Regions from separate parts of the Homo sapiens genome. Here all the other regions are linked to region 2. Evidence: promoter capture Hi-C in 16 types of primary human blood cells and fetal thymus (Javierre and others, 2016). All regions are on one chromosome and are shown on one strand. The core of a region is centred on a gene start or on the middle of the fragment in contact, and the rest is flanking DNA. Distances in the headings are between cores, read along the strand shown. Region 1 overlaps LARGE1 (LARGE xylosyl- and glucuronyltransferase 1). Region 2 holds the start of LARGE1 (LARGE xylosyl- and glucuronyltransferase 1). Region 3 overlaps LARGE1 (LARGE xylosyl- and glucuronyltransferase 1).

Region 1 (4,486 bases), core at 1,414-3,913, 410 kb before region 2:
GTCTGTAGTTTCAGCTACTTGGGAAACTGAGGCAAGAGAATCGCTTGAACCCAGGAGGCGGAGGTTGCAGTGAGCCGAGATCACGCCATTGTACTCCAGCCTGGGCGACAGAGTTAGACTCTGTCTCAAACAAACAAAAAAACTCAGGAGAAGTATTAGAGACAACAAAGCAGACTGTACCCCCAGACTTCATGTCAGCTATTTGGGAGACACAAGAGCAAGGGAGAGTTTGCTTTTAAGGTACTCACAGGCTGAAGAGGGAGTGGGAAGAAGAGGTAAGGGAATTGATGGTCATGATGGTGTCACATGCTGTGATCCAAGTAAACACCCCCCAACCCCTGTCACAGTGATAGTCAAGGGAAGCCTTAAGAATGAGATGGAATTCAGCAGGCTGATGACATGAACATCCCAGGCATAGGGACCAGCTTTTGCAATGGCATAGAGACCCGAGAGCAGGTATGCTGTTTGCTTCAGAAAGGTGCAAATGAAACAAGGTTGTCTGAATGGGCATCTGGTGCTGGGAGTTAATCCTAGAGAGGGGCTCTGAGTGCAGAGCTAAGGATGCTGACAGTCCTGAAGTGTATGCCCAGGAGAAGGAAATTCTCATACATGCTACAAAATGGATCAAACTTGAAGATATCATGCTAAGTGAAATAAACCAGACATACACTAAAAAAAAACCCGCAAACATCATATGACTCCACTTATATGGGATACCTAGAATATTCAAATTCATTGAGACAGAAAGGAGACTGGTGGCTACCAGAAGCTGGGGGAGGGGAGAATGTACAGTTATTATATATATTAATAGGTATAAAGCTTCAGTTCAGGATGATGAAAAAGTTCTGGAGATGGATGGTGGCGATGGTTGTACCACAACGTGAATGCACTTAATGCCACTGAACTATGTACTTTAAAATGGTTACAATGGTAAAATTTTGTTAGGTATATTTCACCATAATAATGTTTCTGAAGCACGGTGTTCTGGTGGAAGACACACATTCATGACCACCCTCTTCTCATCTATGGAAGTTTAGGAACTCCAGCTTGCTCTACACTGGTGTGGTACCAGAATTACATACCTAGGGGGACTGTTGAGGATTCACACTTTACAAACAATCTAGCATCTTTTAACAGCAATCACCTTCTGGAAGAGGGGGACCTTTAAATCCCACAATTCCTACCTCCTCCTTGCGTTTCTGACTAACTTCCCTAATTTTATACCTTTGGGTTGAAGGAAGAAAAGAGACAGAACAGAAACAGCCACACTTCCCTTTGATAATGTGCTCCCTCTCCTAATTAACAAGACCTTGCACAACTAAACATCTGCCAGCCTCAAAAACTTTCACAGAGATGAGCTTTGATCACAGTGGAGCACACAGAATCTACACCGAACAACAGAATTTCACATAGCCAAAACCAGGTGGTGCTAGATCCCACCCTGCTCAATTTAATCTGACATTCTGAAGACTCTACTGGTGGGTGTCACCCTGGGCAAGGCACAGGGGCCACTGCAGGGCACTGGGAACGAGTAAAACACAATCACTGCCAACTTCAAGGAGCACATGGATCAAAGGCAGCCTTTCTCCTCTTCCAATGCACACTATACTCATGGGTAACCAGGTAAGAGGGTCATGTTAATTACACCCTTACCATTTTCTTAAAAGGGTTTTCTAAAACCTACATTTGGTAACTCAACACTAAAGTGTACATATTTGACTCTCTATGTGAAAATTCTCTTTCCTTGGTTTCTCTTCTTTCTCGCGACACTCTCACCAAATGCAGAGAACTGTCATGTGGTGATCTCATTCAACAATTTGTCATGCTTATAAATCACTTTTTGCTTCCTGGAGAAAGTTACAACGTACATCCATGACATCCTATCAGAATTATGCAGGTGTATCCAAAAGGTTGATTGGCAACTTTAATATATACCCCAACAGAACAATCTCATCCTGGCAAGCATTAAAAACTCATCGCATATTATTACTTCACGTGACATTTGTCTCCCGAGAAGCATCCATCCAACTGCGATGGTGTTTGCATGCAAAAGGAAAATATGGCAGGGAAGTGTGGGAAAAAACCCAGAGTGAATTCAAATGGTGGGGATGTCTTTGAACCACAACTGTTTTCCTCTCTAGAGTCATTAGTGCTAATTACTAACAACTACCCTGGTGACAAGTGCTGGCAGTTACTTAGCTGCTAATTGGCTTCAATTTACCGCTCTGATTGTGTGGTCACAGGTATATATTTGCTTGGGGAGTGAGGAAAAGAACAGGTATATCAGGCCTTAGGCTGTCCTTCCAAAAGACATCACCTGCCTAAAATGATCCGCCTAACCCAGTGGGTTTCAAACTTTCCCACGCATTATAATCACTGAGGGCCCCACCCCTAGGGTTACTGATTTAGTATGCCTGGGGTGCACCCCAAGACTTTGAATACCAGCAAGTTCCCAAGTGAGGCTGATGCTGCTGGTCCCAGGGCCACCTGTTGAGAACCACTGGCCTCATCAATACTCTCCTTCAACCTGATCCAAGACCCTCTCCCCATCTCATCTGTCTCATCTGCAAAATGGAGGCAGTGCAACAAAAACAATTGTCTTGGAGGTCCCAAGCACACATTCCATTGCAAGGATGAAATGGTGTCATGTTTAATAGAGTCCTCTATGGAAAGAGGGATTTTTATTTTTTTTTTAAGAGACAGGGTCTTGCTCTGTCACCCAGCCTGGAGAGCAAAGCACAATCATACCTCACTGTAATCTTAAAGCCCTGGGCTCAAGTGATCCTCCCACCCCAGCCTCCCAAGTAGCCCAGACTACAGGTGCATGCCACCATACCCAGCTAATTTTTAAATTTTTTGGTACAGATAGGGTCTTGCTATACTGCCCAATCTGGTCTCAAACTCCTGGCCTCAAGTGATCCTCCCACCTTGGCCTCTGAAAGTGCTGGGATTACAAGTGTGTGCCATTGCGTCCAAGATTTTATAAATGTTCTGTGTTTTTATAAATGATCTGTGTTTTGCCCAAACCTAACTGGGCAATTTAAAATCTCTCTCGTCTGCTTTCATTTAGACAGAAATGAATCGCAGAGAGTGAAGGAAAAGTGAGCGGTGCATGTTTACCTGGGCTTCACCAACCTATGACAATTTTGCATTTGGGAAAAAGTCTCGCCGCTCCCCTGTGAGCCCTCATCTCTGACCTTGCTTTGATCTACATTTGAAACCTAAAGAACAAGAATGTGTGAGTACAATAATAAAACCAAATCAATATTCCAGCACCTACCTAACAGATTAGAGAATAAACCTGAGAAATGAGCTCATTATTCTACTTAATAAACTACCATAAGCAAGCAATGTACTGGGAGTTAGGGATGTAAACACAATAATAGTAACTACATTTATTAGGCACCGACCATGCACGAAGCAGTCTAAACATGCAAGTCTTAATCCCTGCAGCCACCTTGTAAGGGGGTAGTGGTGATGACAGCAAATTCGAATAACATGCCTACTAGGTCCCAAGTCTCCTCTAAGCATTTTATACATATTTACTGATTTAATCAATAACTATATGAGTTAGGAACTTTACAGATGAGGAAATTCAGCCATAGAGAGGAGACCTCTAACAATTGGCTTGTGTCTCCGTGCTAGTAAAAAGTGGAGGTAAAATTGGAACCCAGGCTGCCTGTCTCCAGAGGATGTGCTAATGACTGCTATACTCTATCACCTCCGCTGGTAAGTGTGTATAGCCCACATTTCACTGATAAGAAAATACCAAAGTCCACAGAGGCTAAAAACTGGTTTGGTGTTTTCTGTTTTGTTTTTGAGACAGGATCTAACTCCAGGAGGGTAGGCTGGGGTGCAATGATGCAATCTTGGCTCACTGCAACCTTGGCCTCGCAGGCTCAAATGATCCTCTCACCTCAGCCTCCTGAGTAGCTGTGACTACAGGTGCATGCCACCGTGCCTGGCTAATTTTTTGTATTTCTTTGTTGTTGTTGTTGAGACAGAGTTTCACTATGTTGCCCAGGCTGGTCTTGAACTCCTGAACTCAAGCAATCCGCCCACCTTGGCCGCCCAAAGTGCTGGGATTACAGGCGTGAGCTACCACACCCAGCCTGGCTTAGCTTTTGGTTCTGAAGTCCGTGCTACATGCCCCAGGCTCTCCAATGACTGGCAAATGGTCCCTGTTCTTGAGAGAAGGCAAGCATATATACAAATGAACCCAATTCAAGGTGGCGGGTGCCGATACAGTTCTGTATTGTCGGGCAATCCATCACACACATAGTGATTTTCTTCCTGTTTTACTGATGGGCCATTAAATGACTGATGAGACCAAACGGGGGCAGCCAGACTTTCCTCCCATTTGGACAGATGTTTCCACATGTGGCAGCTGTACTCAGGTATCTTCACACGCAGCTTTTACTGCTGCTATTTCTTTATGTTGCTGATGCCAGCCACATGAGTTGTACCTGTGTGTGTACTGCTGTAT
Region 2 (4,827 bases), core at 713-3,212:
TGAACAATAAAGGTACACTAAGAGATGTGTGAAATCTTAAAGCTGGCGTTTTTATTTCTTTTATTTTTACCCCTAGGGAGGACCAAGCGTGCCAGTGAGTAATTCATTCATGTCACCCATTTGTGAGGGATGGGAGAAGAAACAACCACCACTTGTTCCCTTCTTAATTTAGAAGCTTTCCTTATCTTAAGTCTATCAAAGCTGACTCCTGAGGTGGGAAGACAGGAGAAGTGAGAAGAAAAATTAACCCGAGGTGACTGCCTCCACGGAATGATAAGCACTTCAGGTCTCCACACCTGTGTCAGAGAAGAAAGGCATCTGCATGTCAGGGAGGCGGACGCCCCCACCTGCCACCCCCTCCGTTTCTCCCCTTGAAGGAAGCAGGAGCCTGATCTCCCCCCACTCCCTCCTCTCTCTCTCTCTCTGGGCACTTACATAAGACCCTGTAAAACTTCCAGTGACATTCACGAAAAATGTAAGCTGCTATTTTGCTCCCTCAGGAGATCATTTTAATGGACTGAGTGACAAAATTCACGGATTCTGAATTCAGCAGAAACCTGCTCAACCGAGGCACATCAGCACAGAGACGAAAAAAAAAAAAAAAAAGAGTCCAACCCCATTAAACAGGGTCACCCAAGGGATGGATTCAGTGTGCAAGAGACAATCTGTTCCCTCCGAAGTGACCCATTTAAAATCAGATTGTTCTGGGGGAAGCTCACAGGTTTAATAAATTTCAAACAGGCAAGGACAGGCTTGTACAACTGAGGTTCCTTAAGAGGAACATTTAAAAGAGGATAAGGCAATGAACAAAATAACTTGAGGATACACAAACTTTGGAGTCCTCACTCCAAAACTTCAAAAGCAGTGACATTTACAAGAATGTCTGGATAGCTATACACTGATCACTCCTCACAAGCAGCTTTGACTAACAGGAAGGACATGCTGGCTGGGCTTCCCCCCTACAGATAGCAATGCCAACCAACCACTCTGTCCTAAAGAGGGACTCGCAAGCTGTGGCTGCTCGCCCCCAAATTGCGCAGGACTGTCTGCAAGAAGGAACAAGAAAAGTTATTCACAGCATCACACCACGAAAGGTAGTTGCGTACCGCCCAACAGGGCCCTCTCCAAACACGGCAGGCTCCGCGAACCACAGGTGCTCACCGCTAACAAGAGGGCCGGGGGTGCGGGTATCGGTCACATGCCCTCGTGGTGTTAACCAGAAACTCCTCCTGGCTCGCTCCCTGCCAGCAGCCTGTGTGCCCAGAAGCCGAGCAGGCCCTGAGGGGGTCCTGGGGACTTCGGAGACTGGGGGCTTCCACCTCCAGCCTCTCCAGGGCTCCCGGCCGGGGCAGCAGAGGGTGTGCCCGGCCTCCCCGCCGGCATCCCGAGTACAGGGGGTACCAGCCACAGGTTCGGAGAACTTGTCCGGCGCTACACACCACGGCGCCCCCGCGGCGACTCTCGCGCTCCGGGGCTCTTACCTTGGCCGTGACTGCCGCCAGGCAGAGGGAGACACGGAAGAACAGGGTGGCGCGGCGGCGCCGCCGCCTACGAGGCGCAGGGGGTCCGGGTCAGGGTCCCGGCAGGCGCTGCCCTACTCGGAGCGGCGGTGCCAAGCACAGAGTTCGGGACTGCCCCCGGCTCCAAATGCCGCGGCGAGGGTCCGGGTCCCCCAAGCTGAGCACTGTCCCTTCTTCCTCTTCCTCCGGGGCCGCTGCCTGGAGCTGCTCCCGGCCCGGGGGACTCTTCCGAGCCAGGGGCGCCCCGCATGGGCAGGGGCCTGGGTCAGCCTCGGGTTGGGTCCAGGGAGCGACCGCCGGGGCCGACTCCACCTCCCGCGCTCCAAGCCGATTCGTCCCTTCAGGGCAGGGCCTGCCCGCGAACAGCCCGGCGAGACGAGCGCGGCCGCGCCCCCAGCTTCGGGCGCCCGGGCTCCGGCGCGGCGGCGGGGCAGGAGCAGACTGGCCGGGCCGGGCGCCGAACGCGGCGGCGCGGGGGGGGCTGCAACCGGCCGCGGCGCGCTCTCCCCCAGGGCCTGCGCCGCCCGCCCGCGGCTCCGCGGGAAAGAAGCGCCGGAAAAGGCCTCGCCCCGGCCTGGGGCGCGGGGCCGGGGGCGCGGGGCTAGGGGAGGCGCCCCGGGAAGGTCACGGGAGCGGAGGCGCGGCGAGTGGATCGCGGCGCGGTGGGTGCGGGGAGCCGAGGCGGGCGGCCCCCGCCGCCGGGAGCGCTCGCCGGCCTTGGCCGCCGCCGCCGCCTCCGAGATGCGCCGGCTTCCCGGAGCGCCCGGCGCTCGGAGCTGGGCGGCCGCTGCAGCCGCCGCGGGCAGCCGGGCGCCGCTGGCCGGAGCCGGCGCGCGATCCCCGCCTCCCGCGCCCGGCCAGGAGTGGGCCGCCGCGCGGGAACCGGCAGGGGCGGGCGCTGGGGTCCGGGCTCCGGGCTGGCCCCGCCGCCTCCGCGTGCCCAGAGCGCCGGACTCGCTCAGCAGCTGCAGTGACTGTGTGTCTGTGTCATGTCTGTGCAGCCGGGGGGGACCGCGAGCCGGGGCTGGGTTCCGAGCGGGGGCGGGGCCGGCGCCCGCGTCGGCGCCCGCCCCCGACCCCGTGACCGAGCGGCCGGCCAATGGCAAGCGCCGCAGCCGCGCGGACCGAGAGTTCGCCCCCGCACAGGCTCCGCCCCCCGGCGAGACTCCGCCCCGGTGCTTCTTCAGCTCGCTGGCTGGCAGGCAGGCGGAAGCAACACCCGGAGCCGGGATCCCGGGCCGGGTCGGGATGAAAGGGTGCAAGCTGGGAGCTCCCCGCCCTTCTTCCCCCAACCCCGGCGGCTCCCGGCCGCCTCGGGCTTGGCGTGCCTCGCGGAAAAAGGGGGAAGGGAAGCGGGACGGGCCCGCAGCTGCCGTGGTAGAGAGGCTCGCAGGCTTGCAGGACCATGCAGCCTGCTCCCCAAATTGCACAAAACAGCCGTCGTGAGAAGTAGGAAGTTTCCCCGCCTCGGGTCGCAGCTTCTCTCGGAGGTGGGCATGCTGTGGGGCAGCCGGAGTCTGTGAGGAGCCCCGCCGAAGGGCTCTGACGGCATCTTTCTGGGATCGGTATCCAAGAATCCTGTCCAAGGCTTCCTCTTCCTCTGAGGAAACTACATTTCTTTTTCCTCCACCCCAAACACACACCCCATGCACGCACAACACGCCCCTCCCCTGCTGATTTTATTCTCGCTCTTTCCCTCTTGGCATAAGAACCCGGCGCGCAACATCCCTTGAATGGACTTCCAGCCTCCCAGTTCTAGGGACCAGGGTGGGGGTACGGAGAGTCCTCCCGAGCCACAGGAGAAGTGGGTGAAATGGGTCGGGGCACAGGAGCGGGGGTGTGAGAATGGATGGAAGGAGGATGCCCTCGAGAGAAGACCCAGAGGAGGCGAAAGCAGAGAGGCAGGGAGAGAAAGAGGACGCCGAGAGCTGCACAACTCGGACTCGGAGACCGGAGCTCCGGGCGCGCGATCCAGCTCCCGGGTTTTTCCGCAGCTCGGTCCCAGGGCTTCTGGGGTCCCCTTCCCCCCGGGTCTCCACCTCTCCCCAGCCGGGCGGGCCGCCGGGTCTTTGCCTTCCCTCTGCGCGCCTCTCCGCTCTCCAGGACTCGAGCGAGGCAGCGGGAAGCCCACCCTAGTTCTTGGAAGGGGCAGGGGAAGGATGGGCTGGGGAGGGGGCGCGCGGGAAAGGGCCGCCGAGCTTGGGTTGCCCAGCTGACCCCACTCCTCGAGGTCGGGCTGGGGGGGTGGGGCGGCAAGGGCTTCGGAGGCTTGGCCCCTGCTTGGCTCCGGACCTGGCTCCCGCCTCGGTAACCACACTCTCGGCCTTTGGCTTTACCGAGCTGGGACCCTTCTCCCATCCCCCTTCCCTCCAGCCTCGTGAAACAACGACCCCCACCAGCAGCAGCAGCGCCCGCTTTGCCCCGGCTCCGGAGCGCTGTTTACCTAATCTCAGCGGCTGACCGAGCCCAGCAGAATGCGAAAGGGAGGCAGCGGTGGTACAGCAGCGTCCCCGGCGAAGAAGTAAAAGACGTTTGCTTTGGAGCTTCGGGATAAGTTAACTGCGAAGCTGGGGTCCTGCTGTCTTACCTCTGCGGCGATGAGCCTCACCGTGCACGTTGGCAGGCATAGCAGATTCTGTTTCTGATGCCATTACCGTGTCGGAGAAGAACATTATATGAAAAAATACTATCTAATATCCTAGAGACCATTAAAGTGTCAAAGTTTAATGCCAAGTCTTTTAGCTCGAAGGCTGCTCAGTTCTTCCTCTGACGTGCAGCTCTGTTCCAGAACGCGCTGAAAACAAGGGGATCATTTTTATTTTTTTGCCGCCCGAATGTCCTTCCTTCCTACTCTCTTCCTCCTCTCTCACCCCTACCCCCTCCCCGGAACCGGGTAAAGTTAAAGGGAGAATTTGTACTTTCTTTTTACGTTTTGCTTTGCTTCACTTCATTAGTGGTGTAAAATGCATTATTACAGCACATTAGCATATTAATAAAGGTAACGTGACTGAGGAAAGGAAAAGACCTGAAATTTACAAGCGAAGGAGAAATAGTTGAATAACATCAGAAACTAAAAGATAAGCTTCCGGGAAAGAAACATCTCCATTATAATGACTCAAGTGTAGTACATTCTCTAGATGGAATCTAAGAAAGAAAAATGTGACCATGGTGTGGGAGCTAGCAATGTTCACGCTGGTCAGTAAGGCACGTTGAAGACATAATGCCTTATTAGTGGATTTCACAAAGTGTACTTGCATTGGTCAATAAGCACCTTAAATGTGGAAAAGCTTTGTTTTATCAAATCAAG
Region 3 (4,468 bases), core at 400-2,899, 390 kb before region 2:
GCGGATTGGTATTCTTAGCATATGAACAGCTACTTGTAAAATACAGCCTTGCAAATGGTGCAGCCATTTGGAAAATGGTTTGGCAATTCCTCGAAATGTTAAACATGGAGTCAACATATTACCCGGCAGCCCCATTCCTAGGAATATACTCAAGAGAACTGAAAATGTATGTCCACACAAACTATGTACAGAAATATTCATAGCAACATTACTCATGGTAGTCAAAAAGTGAAAACTGCCCAAGTATCTATCAACTGATGAAAGCATTACAAATGTGGTATATATCCATAAAGCGGAGTATAATGCGGCCATAAAAAATGTGCTACAGACATATGCTACAATATGGACTAACCTTGAAAACATTATGTTAGGTTGAAAGAAGCTACAAAAGATAGCAATGTTTTACGACTGTATTTATAAGAGAAAAAAACTATATTTATATGAAAAAAAATTCTACAGAGGATTAGTGGAGAGCCTGTCTTAAGAGTTTCTAGTCTAATGAAGGAAACACACAAGTGAACAAATAGGTACAATGCCAGAGACTTAAAGAGGCCTGTTTTCGCCACAGATGACACTTAAAGAAAAGAGAGATGGACCTTACGTGGCTTGAGGGGAGAGAAGAGGCTTCAGAGAAAAGGCAGTATTCAATGCTGGACTTGGAGCCTTTGCAGGCATTTATCAGATGAAGAATCCTAGAATGGGCACCTGTTCACATTTCAGCTAGGTGCCTGGACTAAGGGTTTTGCTTGTAATGAAACTTCTGTAGTGTACAAGATTCAGAGAGTGCAGTATCCGTGTGCTCTCACATGGCTCAGCAGAGAGCCTACGCTGGACAGGCGCTGGGAAGAGTTCAGAGAGAGAACACAGAACACAAGTCCATCAACTGCAAAGGCTGTTCTGATCTTCCAGGGTAACTTTGATTTATTCTGTTTTCCTTTACTCTTGAGAAACTAAAACTTTCCATTTCCCGGACTTCCTTCTGTTCTCTTTGTACACTAATTAATCAAATACTCAATTAATCCACCATTTGATTAAAAAAATACACAAGGCAAGGGGTTGTGAATACAAAGAGAGAGTCACAGACATGCTCCCCTGCAGCTCACAGTTGACTACAGCATTTCTCAAAGCATGGCCTGAAGACAGCACCTGCGTTACCACGGGAGTTGCTTAAAAATGGAAATTCCGGCTGGGTGCAGTGGCACACGCCTGTAATCGCAGCACTTTGAGAGGCCGAGGCGGGTGGATCACCTGAGGTCAGGAGTTCGAGACCAGCCTGACCTACATGGAGAAATCCCATCTTTACTAAAAATACAAAATTAGCCAGGCATGGTGGCGCATGCCTCTAATCCCAGCTACTCGGGCGGCTGAGGCAGGAGAATCACTTCAACATGGGAGGCAGAGGTTGCAGTGAGCCGAGATCGCACCATTGCACTCCGGCCTGGGCAACAAGAGCAAAACTCCGTCTCAAAAAAGAAGCGAATTCCAAGGATAAAAACCCCTATAGGTCGGATGAGCTAGATTTGGAACTCTGTTTTCCCAAGCGTACTCCAAATGGTTCTGAGGCAGGTGGTTCACGTACAAAGATAACGGCATTACCACGTGGAAGGAGCTCAAAGGGCCAGTGAGATGATGCAGTGGAGACACAGAGCCAAGGCGATCGGATTTATGTTCCCAGGGGACAGAAATTCTGAACGGCCTTTCATTGGTGGGTGGCACTCGGATGGCAATCAGTTCAGAGGCTCTCTCAAAGATGAGTGCCAACTTTAATCCCTCTTGCTGTCTTTCTCCTTGACATGCTCCTGCATCGGTGTGACACCCACCCCACCCAGAGTCTGAGGTTCTCTGGCTCCTCTACACCCTCTTTAGAGGGAAGGTAGAATCATCTGCCCAGATGTGGAACCCATTAAAGGAAGGTGACAGCACAAAGAGAAAGTGACTGGCCCCTTGACCAGAACAAACCATAATAACAAAAGGAAAGAAGGGAGGGGGAGAAAGGGCCCAGGAGACAGTGGAGGAGGTGTAAACAGTGGTTCCCAAATGACAAACCACATCTGCTCCTAGAGCAGGACTCAGCTGGCTGTAGGCAGAGGTGGAGTTCCTGCATGGAAAAGCAGAACAACTTTGGTGCCAATGTCTTTTTGGACTTGAACAGATCTTAATCTTTCAGGGTCCCCCAGATTTTCTGCTCTGTAACATCAGAATATTAATATTGATCTCTCAGGCTGCTGGAAAGATTAAACGAGAAAAAAACCCATATGAGTAAAATATTCTAGCAACAGATCCTTGTACAGAGTAGACATACCCACTTTGTTCTTCAAACTGTGGGTTCTGGCAGAGGTCGGGGGGGGCGGGGCGGGGTAAAATCTCACAAAATGTCCAATATTAAGGATAATACAGTAGTGTCAGCTAAAGAATGATGAAGTTCATAAATTTGGAAAGGAGAGATTTATTTCTCATAAAGGGTCGCAGCCTGCATGGTGGCTATTCTAACAGGCTGGGGACTGTAGACTCCGTCAGAAACCAGAAACAGACACTTCACCAGAGGGAAAAAGGAAACAGAAATTTATGCTGATCAGGGTGACCAAATATACATATTCAATAAGCTATAGGAGGAGTCATGAATATTTATAAAAGGAGACACGTGCCCATGAGCAACTGAGCTTCATGGCCCTTCATGTGTCTCATGAACAAAAAATGGCAGAGTTAGCATTATCCAAGGGTGGAGGTTTTGATCCTCTGATGTCAAAAGGTGAAGCAAAGGACACAAAAACTCTTATTGCACATTCTCCATAGACTGGCCAGAACCACTCTGTGTTGGGTGATCTCTGATCAGGTGAAAAAGGAGGGGCAGCATCAGCAGGTTAGTAGATATCAGTCTCTTGAGAGGGCTGGTTTTTGTCAATCCCTTGCAGAAGAAAGCCTAACGGTGGTTAGCGAGGGAGGGGGCATAACGAGGTATGTTTGACACTGACACCCCCAACCCATCACGGCCGACAACTTAGTTGTCAAGGTTACTCTGGGGTCTCCTTGACCAAGAGATGGTCTGATTTGTTAGGGAGCTTAGGATTTTATTTTTATTTCTTAGTACTTAACATTTATTGAGTGTCTACTATACGCCAGGCATTGTTCTATGCATTTTGCACGTATGGAGTCATCTCTTCTTAGAACAAGCCTGAAAGACAGTTCATGTCATCAGCCTCATCTTTTATAGGAGAGAAACTCATCAACTCACCACTTCCCTTATCTCACTCCCTACACGTGGAATAGCACTTTTTTTCCTCTAATTATTCTCTCTTTTGTCCTTCCTCAGTATCTTTCCTATCAGCTTATGCCTTAGCCAAAGGAAACTCTATAAAGAATTGGGAAGGGACTTTAAAGCTTATCTTGCTTTTTTTTCAGGAGTAGAAATGGTGAGCCCTCTCTAATCCCTGGCTCATCGCCTTTGAGGACCATGATGGCCCCTTGCCTTGGCAGCCCAAGCCCTGAGCTCTCTATCCTCCCTCCTGCTCATGTGTCCCTCAGGTTGAACCAGCACAACATAGTTGTGACTGGGGTGCATCAAATGCTACAGCTCGAATTACCTTCCTAATTTACTGTGGTTGCCCCATTACCTACTGGGAATCCATGCAAGAGCACTTACCAATGGGGATGCTAAAGCAAAAAATGATAGCAGACAATAAAGTATACACAAGACAAAAGCAGCCCCAACGTGCCTAGCTATTAACCGGGTCAGAAAGTACTAAATGCCAAAAGGAAAGATGACGAGGCTCACAGCCTGCCAAATAGGCCAGTGAACTTAGGTGAATCACTTCCCCCATGCTGGCCATTATTTTCCCATCTGTGAAACGAAGGCAGGGGATCGGATCTTTTTCTGAGGTTTGCTGGAACAGATAGCATCTCTGGTTGATGAGAAGGCTGCATGTTCTAAGATGCAGGATGGTAAAATAGGAAGCACACGGGCTTCAAAGGCAAACCCAAATTTGACAACTGACTCTGTCTTTGCTGGCTGTGTGTTCTCGGAAGATTATTTCTCCTTTCTGAGCTTCATGAGGGATTCTCACTGCTATTAATATCTACCCAACCATCTTCCTCCTTCTCACCAGCTAACAGAACCATGTGTTTGTGTTTTGGCAGCAGCGGGAGACTGCTGATTTCAGGAAAGGTGGGCCTCTTCCTATCCTCAGGGAATAACTCATAATCTCTATAAACCAGACATGGTAATCCCCTTCCCTACTAGCAGCGATAGGGTCTAGGGTTCAGCTTATAACTAATTTCTAAACTATCAGATGTAAAGAGAAGTCTGCTTTGGAGGTTCCTATCCTAAATAAAAAGGCAGACTTCTGGGAAGAAGGGATTTTAGCTTTGCTCTTGCTTCCTGTTTGGGACTCTGAAGACAAGACACCTGGAGCTATGGCAGCCATCTTGCAACTATGAAGTGGAAAGCATGAAGATAAAAATCCAATGTGCT

Evidence for each region. The method cuts DNA at HindIII sites, captures the fragments that hold promoters and counts their contacts. A CHiCAGO score of 5 or more calls a contact.
Region 1: a contact is called between a fragment that was not itself captured here and the fragment with the promoter of LARGE1 in region 2, in 2 of 17 cell types (naive B cells and total B cells). The highest score is 8.7, in naive B cells.
Region 3: a contact is called between a fragment that was not itself captured here and the fragment with the promoter of LARGE1 in region 2, in 2 of 17 cell types (naive B cells and total B cells). The highest score is 7.6, in naive B cells.

What each region holds. Positions count from the first base shown.
Region 1 is chr22:33,506,774-33,511,259 of GRCh38, forward strand. All of the region lies in intron 6 of LARGE1 (LARGE xylosyl- and glucuronyltransferase 1), which reads right to left. Among named protein-coding and RNA genes, the nearest start is that of MIR4764, 72 kb to the left of the region's middle. The HindIII fragment of the contact is 3,692 bases long and covers 818-4,486 here.
Region 2 is chr22:33,918,514-33,923,340 of GRCh38, forward strand. LARGE1 (LARGE xylosyl- and glucuronyltransferase 1) reads right to left here and starts at 1,963. Exons shown (of 15, transcript NM_133642.5): 1 at 1,482-1,963. LARGE1-AS1 (LARGE1 antisense RNA 1) reads left to right here and starts at 2,712. Exons shown (of 2, transcript XR_001755630.2): 1 at 2,712-3,010; 2 at 3,894-4,542. RefSeq lists silencers at 1,491-1,590, 1,861-2,010, 2,331-2,830. The HindIII fragment of the contact is 4,427 bases long and covers 174-4,600 here.
Region 3 is chr22:33,525,791-33,530,258 of GRCh38, forward strand. All of the region lies in intron 6 of LARGE1 (LARGE xylosyl- and glucuronyltransferase 1), which reads right to left. Among named protein-coding and RNA genes, the nearest start is that of MIR4764, 91 kb to the left of the region's middle. The HindIII fragment of the contact is 3,453 bases long and covers 1-3,376 here.